Regions from separate parts of the Homo sapiens genome. Here regions 2, 3, 4 and 5 are each linked to region 1. The links are contacts of gene promoters, found by promoter capture Hi-C in blood cells and fetal thymus (Javierre and others, 2016). All regions are on one chromosome and are shown on one strand. Each heading gives the region's core, a stretch centred on a gene start or on the middle of the fragment in contact. The rest is flanking DNA. Distances are from core to core; before and after follow the strand shown. Region 1 holds the start of ABRAXAS2 (abraxas 2, BRISC complex subunit). Region 2 has its middle 30 kb from the start of OAT. Region 3 overlaps LHPP (phospholysine phosphohistidine inorganic pyrophosphate phosphatase). Region 4 overlaps LHPP (phospholysine phosphohistidine inorganic pyrophosphate phosphatase). Region 5 overlaps LHPP (phospholysine phosphohistidine inorganic pyrophosphate phosphatase).

Evidence for each region. The method cuts DNA at HindIII sites, captures the fragments that hold promoters and counts their contacts. A CHiCAGO score of 5 or more calls a contact.
Region 2: a contact is called between a fragment that was not itself captured here and the fragment with the promoter of ABRAXAS2 in region 1, in 1 of 17 cell types (total CD4 T cells). The highest score is 5.3, in total CD4 T cells.
Region 3: a fragment that was not itself captured here is called in contact with the fragment with the promoter of ABRAXAS2 in region 1 in 9 of 17 cell types (total CD4 T cells, non-activated CD4 T cells, naive B cells and 6 more); the score reaches 10.1 in total CD4 T cells.
Region 4: a contact is called between a fragment that was not itself captured here and the fragment with the promoter of ABRAXAS2 in region 1, in 1 of 17 cell types (naive CD8 T cells). The highest score is 6.9, in naive CD8 T cells.
Region 5: a contact is called between a fragment that was not itself captured here and the fragment with the promoter of ABRAXAS2 in region 1, in 17 of 17 cell types (naive CD8 T cells, non-activated CD4 T cells, naive CD4 T cells and 14 more). The highest score is 21.2, in naive CD8 T cells.

Annotation. Positions count from the first base shown.
Region 1 is chr10:124,800,479-124,803,167 of GRCh38, forward strand. It overlaps ABRAXAS2 (abraxas 2, BRISC complex subunit), which reads left to right and starts at 1,341. Exons shown (of 9, transcript NM_032182.4): 1 at 1,341-1,423. The coding sequence starts at 1,352. RefSeq lists enhancers at 940-1,494, 1,167-1,436, 1,495-2,048 and a silencer at 1,537-1,616. The HindIII fragment of the contact is 5,454 bases long and covers 785-2,689 here.
Region 2 is chr10:124,388,048-124,390,736 of GRCh38, forward strand. No RefSeq gene overlaps it. Among named protein-coding and RNA genes, the nearest start is that of OAT, 30 kb to the right of the region's middle. RefSeq lists a silencer at 1,170-1,459. The HindIII fragment of the contact is 3,581 bases long and covers 1-2,689 here.
Region 3 is chr10:124,487,264-124,489,952 of GRCh38, forward strand. It overlaps LHPP (phospholysine phosphohistidine inorganic pyrophosphate phosphatase), which reads left to right. Exons shown (of 7, transcript NM_022126.4): 3 at 1,159-1,312. Among named protein-coding and RNA genes, the nearest start is that of LHPP, 27 kb to the left of the region's middle. The HindIII fragment of the contact is 309 bases long and covers 1,230-1,538 here.
Region 4 is chr10:124,509,298-124,511,986 of GRCh38, forward strand. The region is part of intron 5 of LHPP (phospholysine phosphohistidine inorganic pyrophosphate phosphatase); the gene reads left to right. Among named protein-coding and RNA genes, the nearest start is that of LHPP, 49 kb to the left of the region's middle. The HindIII fragment of the contact is 9,442 bases long and covers 1-2,689 here.
Region 5 is chr10:124,525,455-124,528,143 of GRCh38, forward strand. All of the region lies in intron 6 of LHPP (phospholysine phosphohistidine inorganic pyrophosphate phosphatase), which reads left to right. Among named protein-coding and RNA genes, the nearest start is that of LHPP, 65 kb to the left of the region's middle. The HindIII fragment of the contact is 9,266 bases long and covers 1-2,689 here.

The sequences.
Region 1 (2,689 bases), core at 91-2,590:
TATACATCCAGATGGCCTGAAGTAACTGAAGAATCACAAAAGAAGTGAAAATGACCGGTTCCTGCCTTAACTGATGACATTACCTTGTGAAATTCCTTCTCCTGGCTTAGAAGCTCCCCGACTGAGCACCTTGTAACCCCCGCCCCTTCCCACCAGAGAACAACCCCCTTTGACTGTAATTTTCCACTACCTACCCAAATCCTATAAATCGGCCCCACCCCTATCTCCCTTGCTGACTCTCTTTTCGGACTCAGCCCGCCTGCACCCAGTTGAAATAAACAGCCTTGTTGCTCACACAAAGCCTGTTTGGTGGTCTCTTCACACAAACGCGCATAACACTCCTGACCTCAGGTTAACACTCCCCACACACGCCCCCCCCTCCCAAAGTGCTGGGATTACAGGCATGAGCCACCGCGCCCGGCCTCAAATGTTGGCTTTTTGTTTTGTTTTGTTTTTGAGACGGAGTCTTGGTCTGTCACCCAGGCTGGAGTGCAGTGGCGCGATCTCGGCTCACTGCAAGCTCCGCCTTCCAGGTTCACGCCATTCTCCTGCCTCAGCCTCCTGAGTAGCTGGGACTACAGGAGCCCGCCACCACGTCCGGCTAATTTTTTGTATTTTTAGTAGAGACGGGGTTTCACCGTGTAAGCCAGGATGGTCTCAAACTCCTGACCTCGTGATCCGCCCACCTCGGCCTCCCAAAGTGCTGGGATTACAGGCGCGAGCCACCACGCTCAGCCTAAATGTTGGCCTTTTTTTTTTTTTTTTTTTTTTTTTTTTGAGACGAAGCTTCGCTCTTGCTGCCCAGGCTGGAGTGCAATGGCACGATCTCGACTCACCGCAACCTCCGCCTCCCGGGTTCAAGCCATTCCCCTCCCTCAGCCTCCCGAGTAGCTGAGATTACAGGCATGTGCCACCACGCCCGGCTAGTTTTTGTATTTTCAATATAGACAGGGTTTCTCCATGTTGGTCAGGCTGGTCTCGAACTCCTGACCTCAGGTGATCCGCCCGCCTCGGCCTCCCAAAGTGCTGGGATTACAGGCGTGAGCCACTGCGCCCGGCTAGAATGTTGTCTTTTAATACTAAGGTTTCACTTGCAAAGGGAAAGAACTGTTTGCGGAACTATCAACCGCTGTCTGAGGCGTGTCGGGAGCGACACCCCTGCGGAGGATACGGTGCCGGGGTCCTTCCGATCGCAAAAACCGGCGTTCCTCAGCCTTCAAGACTGTGAGCGCTCAGGGCCCTCGGCCGCTGCCCGCCGCAGACTCCACTTCCCATGATGCCAAGGGGTCGGGCCGTCCGGAAGGCCGTGTGCCCTCCGCGGGGCATGATGGGGTAGCTGGAGATTTCCATCATGGCGGCGTCCATTTCGGGCTACACCTTCAGTGCTGTGTGTTTCCACAGCGCCAACAGCAACGCGGACCACGTAGGTGCCGGGCCCCCTGCCGCGCCCGCTGGGGGCTTTCAGCCTCTGTCTCAGGCCGGCGCTCGCGGCCAAGCCGGGACCTCATGCGGCTCGCCCCCTGGGCACCAGGGCCGGCCGGAGGAGCTGGTGACCCGGGCGGCTCCCGCCCCCGGTGAGCTCTTGCCTCTGGGGGCTCCTTCGCCCCTGGGACAGGCCCCCTGGCTTCGCGCTCTCAGCCGCTCGGCCGTCCCGGCACAGCCGTCTCCCGTGCAGCAAAACTGTCCCACCTGGCCTCCTGCAGTGTCAGGAGTCGCTCGGTGGAAACCGAGCGCCTGCCCCTCCCTGAAAGTCAGGCTTCTAGACTTAAGAGGGGCGCACGGGGTCGGGAAGGAATCTAAAGGCCGGGCGTTTAGTCCAGTAGGCGAGGTACTCAGCCCCGCCCGCCGGTCTCGCAGGTTGTCGTGGGGGTGCTGCGAGTGAAACCGTGGCTGTCACTACTGATACTTGTTAGACACGGTTGTGTGTTTTCTTCGCCCTGATGCAAAATGGAGAATGTATACAGGAGCGTTCGGTGCAGGGTCTATTTTGTATTTCCTTGAAGTTGCGTGTTTAGTTCTTTGTGACTAGTTCTTTCACTAGTCACAGTGAAATAGGGAAGTGACAGGCCCACTACTGAGTGATGGGAAATGCATAGGCTGTGAGCCCACAGGAGGAGCAGATCCTGTCTGTTTCAGTGTCTTTATTTTACAAATTGTCTTTTAACGTCATTGGCCTCTGATTGGAAATGCTTTGTGAAACTAGATCACTTCTCTCTTAAAGGAGGTATATAATTTGGCCACCAAATTGGGGGATTATTTTAAGTGATGTTAATAGTGAATGATTCAAACTCATTAAACCTATGTGTGGGGTTTTTGGTTGTCATTACAAAGCAAAATGGTACACTGCAGAAGGAGGAACTGCATTTGGTTTGATGTCAGCAATCTTAGCTTCCATTAATAAAAACTGATTTCACAGGGAGGTGATTCCATTAGTAAATTGAATGCAATTAAATTATTGTACCTTTCATCTCTTCAGTGTTGATGGTAGAACTTAATGATAGGAATAGGAATATATACATCATGGGTTTTTCCAGAAGCAGCTTTGAAGACTATGGCCTAGGGTACTACAACCAGCTATTTAATAATGTAATATAGTTCCATATGTAAGGGTTTGTGATACCCCTAGTGTCCATGGACTATTAAAAATGGGTCCTTTATTTCTTGAATGCCTACTAATATCACAGTTTAT
Region 2 (2,689 bases), core at 122-2,621, 410 kb before region 1:
AACACAGGTTTGGCTGGGTGTGGTGGCTCACGCCTGTAATCCCAGCACTTTGGGAGGCCGAGGTGGGCGGATCACCTGAGGTCAGGAGTTCGAGACCAGCCTGACCAATATGATGAAACCCCATCTCTACTAAAAATACAAAAATTGGCCGGGCCTGGTGGCATGCGCCTGTAATCCCAGCTACCTGGGAGGCTGAGACAGGAGAAACGCTTGAACCCAGGAGGTGGAGGCTGCAGTGAGCCAAGATCCTGCCATTGCACTCCAGCCTGGGCAACAAGAGTGAAACTCTGTCTCAAAAACACACACACACACACACACACACAGGTTTACACATTTCTTTGGGTCTTCATTTCCTTATGAAGGCTCCTGCATCCGGTAAAAATTATATTAAATAAATGTGTATGTTATTCTCTTGTTATATGAGTCCCAGGCAGGAACCTAGGACGGTGAGGAAAAGCTCTTTCTCCTCCTATGGCATCCACACACCCAGGGCCTGCCACTCCTGCCCAGCCCAGGACCGTCACTATCTCAGTGACCAGTGGACAGGGCTCAGCAGGGCCACACGGATCAAGGTGGGCCCCAGCCAGGCAGAGACCAGGCCCCGCATCCTCCCACCCCCTGCACAACTTCGGTCCCCCAATCACCAGGGCAGGTATGAGTAAGGCCATTGCACAGTGGCAAAAACTGAGGCCCGCAAGGGCCCAAGGACCACCACTCAGATCCCTCCGGGCACAGCCCAGCCAGGAGCTCCGGGCAGAGTCCCGGGAGGCCCTGCCCACAGGGTCAGAGCGCCCCTGCCCCCGGCCCAACGGATGCGCCTGTCCAGGATCACCACCTGTCAAGCTCGCTGCAGCGCGGGAGGTGGGGTGGACCCTTCCCTGCCCCGGAGCCCACACCTCTGCACGGTGAACCGAGGCGCTCCGACGGGTGCGCGGACAGCACCTGGCACTGAGGAGGTGAACGTGACTCCCACACACGCGGGACTGAACCAGCGCCCCAGAGTCCCCAGAACACGCATGGGCCCGCGGGGCCGCAGCCCACGCCCGGGACAGCCGCCCGCAGTCTACGCAGGGAGGGGCCGCGGGGCTCTGGTTTCTGCAAGTTCTGAATTGTCTCCAAGGAGCATATTCCAACGTCAGAATAATAAACTTTTACAGAACTGTATTGCTCTGCAGCGCGCGGGGGGACTCGGCCCAGCGAAGAGCGAGCGCCCTACAGGCCTCGGCGGAGGAGGGCACGGTCCCCAGCGCGGCTCCTGGCCCCGCCCACGGCCCCGCCCCAGCTCCCGAGCCCCGGCCTCGCGCACGCGCATCTCGCGGGCTCGCAGGACGGCCGGGAAGCAACGCTTTGCGGGCAGCGCCCCCTGCCGTCCCAACGCGCGTGGGGCCCTATGGCTGCGAGCAGTTCCGGCCAAAAGCCCCAGGACCCGGACTTGGGGTTATTGACTTGCGCGTGGGCGCTGAGTCTTGGAGGGGAGGGGACAACTCGCCACACCCCCGTCCTCTCCCTGGAGCTCGAAGCCCCTTTCTGCTGAAATGGGGCCTCCTTTTCTCGGGAAACTGACTTTGGGGGAAACTAAGTCTCAAGGGGATCTTAAAACCCAAGACGGGGGAATGGGAACCTCACAGGACGTGGGGGCGCTTTTCTGGCCATCTCTATATAAAACCTGCCGGGGGCCTCAGACCCTGGCTCCTCTGTCAGTTCCCAAGACCCGTCGCGCGCCCACCTGAGCCCGGTGCCCACTGGATGGGGGCTCAGGCTCACCTGGTCAGTCCTCACCCCCACCTCCAGAGACCAGGCAGTCATGCCCTTCTAATATGGCGGAGGTCCCAAAAGATTATACCATATTTTTACTGTGCCTTTTCTGTGTTTAGCTATGCAAATACTTAGCATTGTGTCGTAGCAGGCTGTGCCATCTAGGTTGTGTAAGTACACGCCATGATGTTCACATAACGAGAAAATCGCCAAAGGACGCATTTCTCAGAACATACACCTGTTGTGAAACCACCCGTGACTGTTCTGTCCTAATTCAACCCCCTCATTCGATAAAGGACAGAGAGGCATTGAGTTGCCAGAGGTCATCCTGGTTGTCAGAGGCAAAAGCAAAACCGAAGCTCTGAGCCTCGCAGCAACCACCCACGCCACCGCCTCCCGTCATCATCAGGAGGCCTCCCCAGGTTTCTGTCCCAGGGAGCGCAGCCGGTGGACAAGTCCCTTCCGCTCTCTGAGCCTCCAGTAACATGAAAACACTGGCAGGAGACCCTCCATGATTCCAGGATTCCTAGAACACTGGCAGGACACCCTCACCCGGTGATCACTCCCAGGTCACCCCACTGAAAGCCGGCAGCTTTCTGTATGGTCTGCATCCATGTTTTTCTATTTCTCCCAGGAGTAATTACTCCATTTGTTCACAGGTACACGGCTTGGCACTCAGGGGCCATAAATTAAAGAGATGTTGTGATAAAAAGGAAGGCAGGAGAGAGTAGGGGCTGGTGGATCCCACTTGCCCTTCACTGCCGGTCTCAGAGACTGGCCTAGGAGAAAGCCACCAAGATCAAAGGCCCCCAGACCCTGCATCCCCATGGATGTGCAAGCCTGAGCTGTCGGTGGTCCTCCCGAACCCTGCCTTGAGCCATGCTTGGCTATTCCACACAAGGCTTATTTGCAGCAATCATCTGCTGGGCTCTTA
Region 3 (2,689 bases), core at 134-2,633, 310 kb before region 1:
ACCTTTGTAAAATTCTGCCAGACCTTTTTTTCAGAGGGATTGCAATATTTTACACGTCCTCCATCTGCTGCAGCTGTTCAGTATCCTCACCAGACCTTGGTGTTATCAGTCTTTTTAATTCTCACCATTCTGGTGGGTATGAAATCGTATCTCATTGTGTATTTCAGTTTCTTTCTTTCTTTTTTTTTTTTTTTTTTGAGACAGAGTCTCGCTCTGTTGCCCAGGCTGGAATACAGTGGTGCAATCTCAGCCCACTGCAACCTCTGCCTCTCGGGTTCAAGTGATTCTACTGCCTCAGACTCCTGAGTAGCTGAGATTACAGGCGGCCGCCACCGTGCCGGGCTGATTGTTGTATTTTTAGTAGAGATGGGATTTTGACCATGTTGGCCAGGCTGGTCTCGAACTCCTGAACTCAGGCGATCCGCCCACCTTGACCTCCCAAAGTGCTGGGATTACAGGCATGAGCCACCGCACCTGGCCTCAGTTTCTTTTCAATTTAGAAAGGTCAACATCTAGTCCTAAGAGAGATGACAGCATGTTTCTTCTAGGATCTGAAAACACAGATCCAATGATTTGATGTATCCTTGCAAATTTTCCTATTTTAATTTAAAATGGGGGAAGACAAAGAAGGAGAAGGAGGAAGAGAGTTTCCTAAGGGAGCTGGTGAACTGGACCTGTGGGGATGGAATTCTGCTTTTTCTTCAGGACATATGTGTGGGGTTGCCTGAAATGTGTCAACGGTTCTTACAGTTTGGGACCAGTAGTGCCAACCCTCCAAGGCTTGTGCAGCCCCATTTCCTCCTGCTGCAGGCTCTCAGTGTCTTCTGAGCAGATTTCCCTTCTCAGTAGCAAAGCTGTGGGTTTCCTGCCTGCGATAGTGACCTCAGGGAGCTCCTGGGGCTGATGTGGTATTGGGATGGAGGGTCCTGGGTGTGTCCACCTTTCTCCTCATAAGCCCTCTCTGAGGAGCCGAATTCCCTCCTCTGTCAAATAGGAATAACCCTTCTGTGTCTACCTCCCATGGCAGCTGTGATGATCAGAAAGAAATGCATCTGAGAAAGGGGGAGGACATGTGAAAGGTGTCCCTGGTAGGAGATGGGGAGGTAGGCCATGTCCTCCCAGGGCTCCGTGGCACTCTGTCTCTCTCTCTCTTTCCAGGAGTCCGCTCAGAATTTGATCAGATCGACACATCCAACCCAAACTGTGTGGTAATTGCAGACGCAGGAGAAAGCTTTTCTTATCAAAACATGAATAACGCCTTCCAGGTGCTCATGGAGCTGGAAAAACCTGTGCTCATATCACTGGGAAAAGGGTAAGTTGGCTCCAGGGAGAGTCATTTCTCGGTGCTTTAGATGATGCTGTGCCAGTCTCCAACTTGCGGAATCAGGCAGAGAAGGATGCAGAAGGGGAGGTGGGAGGAGCACCGGTGATCTTCTTTTCCCTCCCTTTTTCATGCTTTCTCTCTTCATTTCTTTATTCCTCTCCTTTAATCATTTCTTTAGGAAATAGGAACACTGTCTTCAGGAGCTGGTTGATCAAGCTTCCATGTGGAGTCTAGACTAGAAGAGGGCGTCATTGCAGAGGGAGACCCTCTGGAGATCTCAGAGGCCAAGTGTTGATTGTCCCAAGTTTAGAGCAAAGAAGGAGAAGGTGCATTTGCATAGGATGTAGCAGGGTGTTGGAGAATGCTCTCAAGGGTTGTCTAATTAGTAAAACATAGGCTTGAGGGCCTACCCAGTCTGGGCACCGACAGTCTCTGGCCACAGATCACTGTCTCTGTGAAGTTGTGATTTTGTGATCAGTGTTTTGTCTGAGCCTTTAGCACATGCCTTGCCATCTCTTTCTTAAACAAAACAGTGTTGGTTATTTTTAACATTTTTCTTACACTGAGATAGCACATGTTCATTGAAGAAAAATTAGACAATACAGATGAGCAAAAGAAGAAACCAGAAAGTATTTTTAGTCCCACTGCACGAGGAAAACACCTGTCCCTATTTTGGTGTATGTCCTTGCAAGTGGCTTCCTGTGCGAATAGACTATTATGGATGGAGATGTTCACAGCATCGATGTCACACTTGACCTTGTTTTGTCATCTGTTTTTTATTGTTCACCAAACAATATTTGTGACTGACTTAGCATGCAGCAAATGGATATGTCTTGGGGCATGGTTATCTATGGTGTGGCTATCTTGTATATATATATATTTTTTAAGACTGAGTCTCGCTCTGTCACCCAGGCTGGAGTGCAGCGGCGTGATCTCGGCTCGCTGCAACCTCTCCCTCCCGGGTTCAAGCGATTCTCCTGCCTCAGCCTCCTGAGTAGCTGGGACTACAGGCGCCCGCCACCATCCCAGCTAATTTTTATATTTTTGGTAGAGGCGGGGTTTCACCATGTTGGCCAGGATGGTCTCAATCTCCTGACCTTGTGATCCGCCCGCCTTGGCCTCCCAAAGTGCTGGGATTACAGGCATGAGCCACCGCCCCCAACCTCTTGTAATTTTTTTCTTTTTTTTTTTTTCTGCTTATAAGTTTATTCAATGCAAAATAACCCTCACCAGTTTTACTGAGGTGGCTGACCATGTCCACGACCAAATACGCCTGTAAACTGAAATTCGGTTGCTGACCCATTCCCAGCCTCAGCTTTCTCACTGGCACCAGGGGGACAGCACTCCATCTGTGGGTGTCTCTTT
Region 4 (2,689 bases), core at 68-2,567, 290 kb before region 1:
CCGTCATATTCTTGACCATTTCCTATTGATGGAGATGAGGCTGCTTCCAGTTTCGCTCTTGTGCGTAACCCTGATGAACACATCTTGTATGTACATCCTCTTGTACATTTCTAATTATTTGCTCCAAATCCTAGTGGTGTGGCTGGGAGGCTGTGATGCATGTTGCTTATTTCTGTTTCAGAAAGGTGTGTCCGTTCACCTTCCTGACCTGCTGCGTATACAGATGCTTGTTTCCCCACATCCTTACCAACACCATGATTTCTGACTTTTTTTTTTTAAAGTGGTCTTTGAGTTTTGCTGTTAGTCTTGTTCCTTATGAAGGTGTCCGACCACAGTGGCAATTACTCAGCATTGCACTGTCTCCAGGTCTCTGTGGGAGCCTGGGTTCCTTTGGGGCCTGGATTCAGGGCTCATCCTAGAGTGAGCTGTCATCTCAGGGCATCTCCCTGGGGGATATGTGCACCCCAGAGCTGCAGTTACAGACACTGAGCTCACTCCACCTTCACCACCCAGCCCTGCTGCTTCCCGCCCTAATCCTCCTGGCAGAGCCCCTGGATAAGGAAAATATTTGTGAACCACGGAAGCTCTTTGGTGCTGGAATTTTGCACTCCAAAGCATCGCCGCCTGTTAGATGATGTTTCCCTCCAGCACCTAGGACACTGAAGAGGAGACCAGGGCAGGCAGGCAGATGCGTAAGAGGGAGGATTGACTGCTGTAGCACCCGACCCAGGACACCTGCCTCTGGGACTGTGGCGCCTCCATCCGGCTCTCTGGATCCTGGGTTCTGGGGGGTCCGACCTTTCATTTTTTTCTCCGCCTCACACCCCACCATGTCGTGTCTGAAAGGAAGCGAAGCCCAGCCCTGGCAGGTGGAGTATTTTTATTTCCCCTGACAGCGCACCTCCTGACCTCTATCTTCTTGCCAGTGATTTTTTAAATCCTAAATGATTTGGCAATAATTGCTCCTCCTTGCGTGATTATTGCCCTTCACCGATAGTAAATCTGGGAATCCCCTGGGGTCCTGAGCGCACTTTGGTATGCGGAGCCCACAAGCTGGCCTGGACAGGCATCACTGCTCCAGGCAGCTGTGCACCCAGCCGGCCCTGGCGTCCCGGCCCCCAGCCTCCGCCTCCCTCGCCGACAGCTTCCCGGGGCTCTGCCTGGAGGCAGCCTCGCTTTATCCCGCAGAACCTCCACGCTGTTCCTGCATGAGAACTCTTCCTCCAAGAGACCACGTTCCTCTGGTCCTGTCTCCGTGGGCCACATCCACAAATGTTCCAGCCCAGGAAGAACCAAGTCTGTATTCTGGGAGGGAAACCTGTGTGCTGTCTGGTTTTGTATGTGGGAGGAGCATGCACACAGTTTCATTTTCCCCGGAAGCATGGAGGTGTAGGATGACATGTAATATTTGGAAGACCCATTGCATTTCCAAGGAACCTTCTAGCAGGATGGCCCTGGAGTCTCTGGCAGCAGTGGACATGGTCCTGAATTGGAGTGCTGTGAATGTTCACTGCTGACCTCACGGTTTGAAGACAATTCCTTGAGAAGGGCAGAGGGGACCCGAATACGGGGGCTCTGGCCGGCCCTGCTGCCAGATGCCAGCAGCCGTGGGGGCTTGCCCGGCCAGCCCTGGCTTTTCCCAACCCTCAGAGTGCCCCTTGTGCATGCAGCAGACACTGGTGCTGGTCCCATTCCCGGGAGCACGCGGTGCCACTGGCTGTGTCTTGCCTGGCCAGGTGTTGGTTTGATAGACTCGAAAACCTCATTTGGATTTGGCAGGATTTTCCCTAACATCAGTCATTCTGGAAAAAACACTTTGAATTTTTACCATATCTGGGTATTTTTACCATATCTGGGTACTTGCCACTAGCTCTATTTACTTCACGTTTCTTAAAATTGATTCATTTTATTACTTAAATAAATGTATTTTAAAAGGAACTTTTGATGACTACTATAAATGGAAAACCAGAATCTCTCACTTACCATAATAGATTAATCTAAAAATAAAGACCACATGATTACATTAAAATGTATGTCCTTGCTCTGCCTGGAGTCAAATAGTATGTCACCCGTGTGCATGACACACTCTGGGAAGCACAGGGGTGGGTGGAGGAAAGATCAGAGAAAATCCGTGGAAAGTATGAAGTAGAGAGCACCACACCAGGAAGACGTGGTTTTATTTCAGTACCTCATGTCTCGCGGTGGCTTGCGGCTACCAGTAACTGGCAGAATTCTCAACATTGTGGCCCTCAGCCACCTCCTCCGAGCTCTCTCTCAGCACCACCATCCGCCGTGGCTTCTCTGAGGGAGGCCCCTCTGGCCTCTGCTTGACTATGATACATGTCGAGTCCATGCCGAGTGGCAGAAAAGCTCCGTTTTCAGCTGAAACTACCTCCCTGGCCTCAGGGGGCCTCATTGGCTCTGTCTTTGTACTTTCTCAATGGCTCCTGATGATTCCTTGGTTATCTGAAGGCCTGTTTGGGAGACGGTTCCCAGGACAGTTGCTTCAGGCTTATATGTGTGTGCTTTCTGGAATTCACAGCATGGCGTGCCCTGGTGAGTGGTGGGGAGATGGGTAGTGAACACGTGTGGTAGCCCCTGCTGGGCGTGTCCCACCTGTCCTCCATGTCCTACAACCTGGTTGGCCCCTTTTGCTTGTCAGAGCAAAGCTCAGAACCTCACCTCCTCT
Region 5 (2,689 bases), core at 116-2,615, 270 kb before region 1:
ATCACGAGCTGTTCTGGGAGGGAGGCCCATGTTCTTCCCAGTTTACGGTCCTGGGAGGTTTCTGGACATTGTCAGCATGTGGCAGTCCCGGACGCTGGGCCTCCTGAGAGAGTGGGGAGGAGACCCGAGGCGGAGGCGAGTGTGTGAAAGGAGGCTGGTGGGGTCCACATGGCTCAGCAGGTGAACATGGGGTTTCCAGGGGCAGACACCCCATCGTGGCCCCCATGGCTTTGGTTGGGGCAGCATCAGCTTCCTCCTCTGCTGGGTTTCCTGCCTTCTGTTGGCTGCTGGGGCAGGGGAGACAGGATTGGGAACAGTCACCCTCTCTGGTACTGACCCTCATTAGCATTCTTGGTTCCTGAGCAAGGCTGCTTCATGTCCAGGGCAAGAGGGGAAAGATGTTAAAACCTGAACCCCCCTGCTGGGCTTGGTGCCGCCTGTGGGAAAACCGGTGGGCTGAGGGCTGGGGGGCTCTGAGCTGAGGAAGGGGGTCCCAGGTGGAGGCCGGGAGGTGGCTGCAGAGTGAGGCCACAAGGCCTGGGGGTTGGCCCAGAAGGTAGGACCCCTGTAGGCAGCCTCCCAACCCCAGGAATTTGCCTCTTGGGAACGTGCAGGTCCCTCGAGGGTCCTGGAAGGCGCTGGAGTGGTGGGACAGGGATTGAGGGAGCGTCAGCAGGGCCCTCTCTTCTCCCTAGAGCCGCTCAACACGTGTTGCAAGGCACGTGCTCTGGACCTGGTGCTCACACGTGCTCTTCTCCCAAGACACTCCCTGAAGCGCGTTCCCCAGGAGCTGGAAGGGGGATAACGCAGGTATGCCTCATGGCGGGGCCAGTGCTCATGCTTACACACACTCAGCCTCAGCTCGTCTACACCCTGCAACAGCCCAGAGAAGCCACCCGCCTTCTTACCCCTACCATTTAGATTTGCAAATGGAAGCTCAGAGAGGTGAAGTAACTTGCCCAAGGCCACACAGCCTACCAGTGTCAGAATCGGGATTCGAACCCACCTCTGCCTGACTCCAAGGCCTGTGCCCCTGAACATTCTCAAGCCACCCCCCAATTAGCCAAGTGTTGCTGGAGCTCTGAGCAGGGGCCGGGCCTCACAAAACAATAGTAGCCAGTGTGGGGGCTCACAGGACTGGTCAGCTCCCGCCCTCCCCCGCTTTGGCCCCCTCCACACACACACGACCTGCTGCTGAGCTGGACATAAGCAGGACCTGGCTCTGGGGGCTTCTGACCTAGGGCAGGCCCTGAAGTTGGTCATTAGACCCCACCCACCCACCTGAGAGCCTGGCGGAGATGTGACAGGTGACAGCCCCAGAAGTCCCATCGTTGCTGCCTTTGTGGTTAAAGTCCGCTGAACCCAAGCGCTCTCTTCCCCTCCAGTGTGTGGTGGGGAGGTGGGGAGGGGACCCAGGCAGATCTGGGAAGCCGTGGCCAGGCCGCAGCAAGCAGGGGAAGAAGGGGCCCGCAGTGAACTTGCAGCAGGAGCTGTGGCCACCGTCCTAGCCAGGCCGGCCACCTGCCCAAAATGTTCTCTAACCTTAACATGAACCTGGGCCACTTGGGCTCTGCTGGATGCCCCCAGGGCTGCCAGAGCCTGCCCGCCACAGAGCCCCTCTGAGACCTGGAGTCTCACCTGAGCCCTCTCGCTGCCCACAGGGCTGGCCTCTGCCTTTCCGCTGCTGCTCTGCGGCTCGGGGACACGGCCAGGGCTGGTGGCGCTTACAGCCCAGGGGCAGGGGAGGGCACATCCCCCACAGCATTCACCATTGCTGCTGTGTTCTGATGCATCAGGGAATCTGCATTTTTGACCCTTTGATTGCTACATCTTTTCCAGCCTGGAAAAGTGAAGAAGGAAGGAAAGGGGGCTCAGAGGCCCCTGACTCCTGTCCTTGCAGGCACAGCTGGACGCAGTTCTTATTTTCAACCATCTTGCAGCAGTGGTTTTATTTGTGCACAGGTTCCTCTGTGTCATGGGTGGGTCCCAGGATGTGAACCCGGTGTGCTCCTCTAGCTCCACTGTCCTCAGGTTGGGGACAGCCAGGGACAAGGCCCCCTACTCCAGCTCCAAACGTAGTTCCAGGCTGGGGTGCCCTTTGCCCAGGCCCAGCCTGGTAGCCCCGGGTGCTCTCCCTGACTTTTCATGAGCCCGGGGGCTGAAACCAGAGCAGCAGGGAGACAGAAAAGCCCAGCCCCACCCTCCAGAGGGGGAGTCCAGCTGCCCGGAGACCCCAAGAGCACTGCCAGAATCTGGGTATGAGACCCAGTCCCCTGCCGCGTGCTAACCATGTAACCTTGGACGTGATCTCTTTGTGCTTTTTTTTTTTTGTTTTTTTCTTTTTGAGATGCGGTCTTGTTCTGTTTCCTAGGTGGGAGTGCAGTGGCACCATCATGGCCCACTGCAGCCTGGAACTCCTGGGCACAAGTGATTCTCCCGCCTCAGCCTCCCAAATAGCTGGGAAACAGGTTTATGCCACCACGCCCAACTAATTTTTAAATTTTTTATAAAGATGGAGTCTCCCTGTGTTGCCCAGCCTCCTGGGCTCAAGTGATCTCCCCGCCTTGGCCTCCCAAAGTGCTGGGATTACCCGGCTTGAGCATGATCTTTTTGCCTTGCTTGGCTCTGGGTTTCCTCATGTGTCAAGTGGGGCTGAGCCCCAGCTGTGTGGGCTGAACAGGGGAGGGTT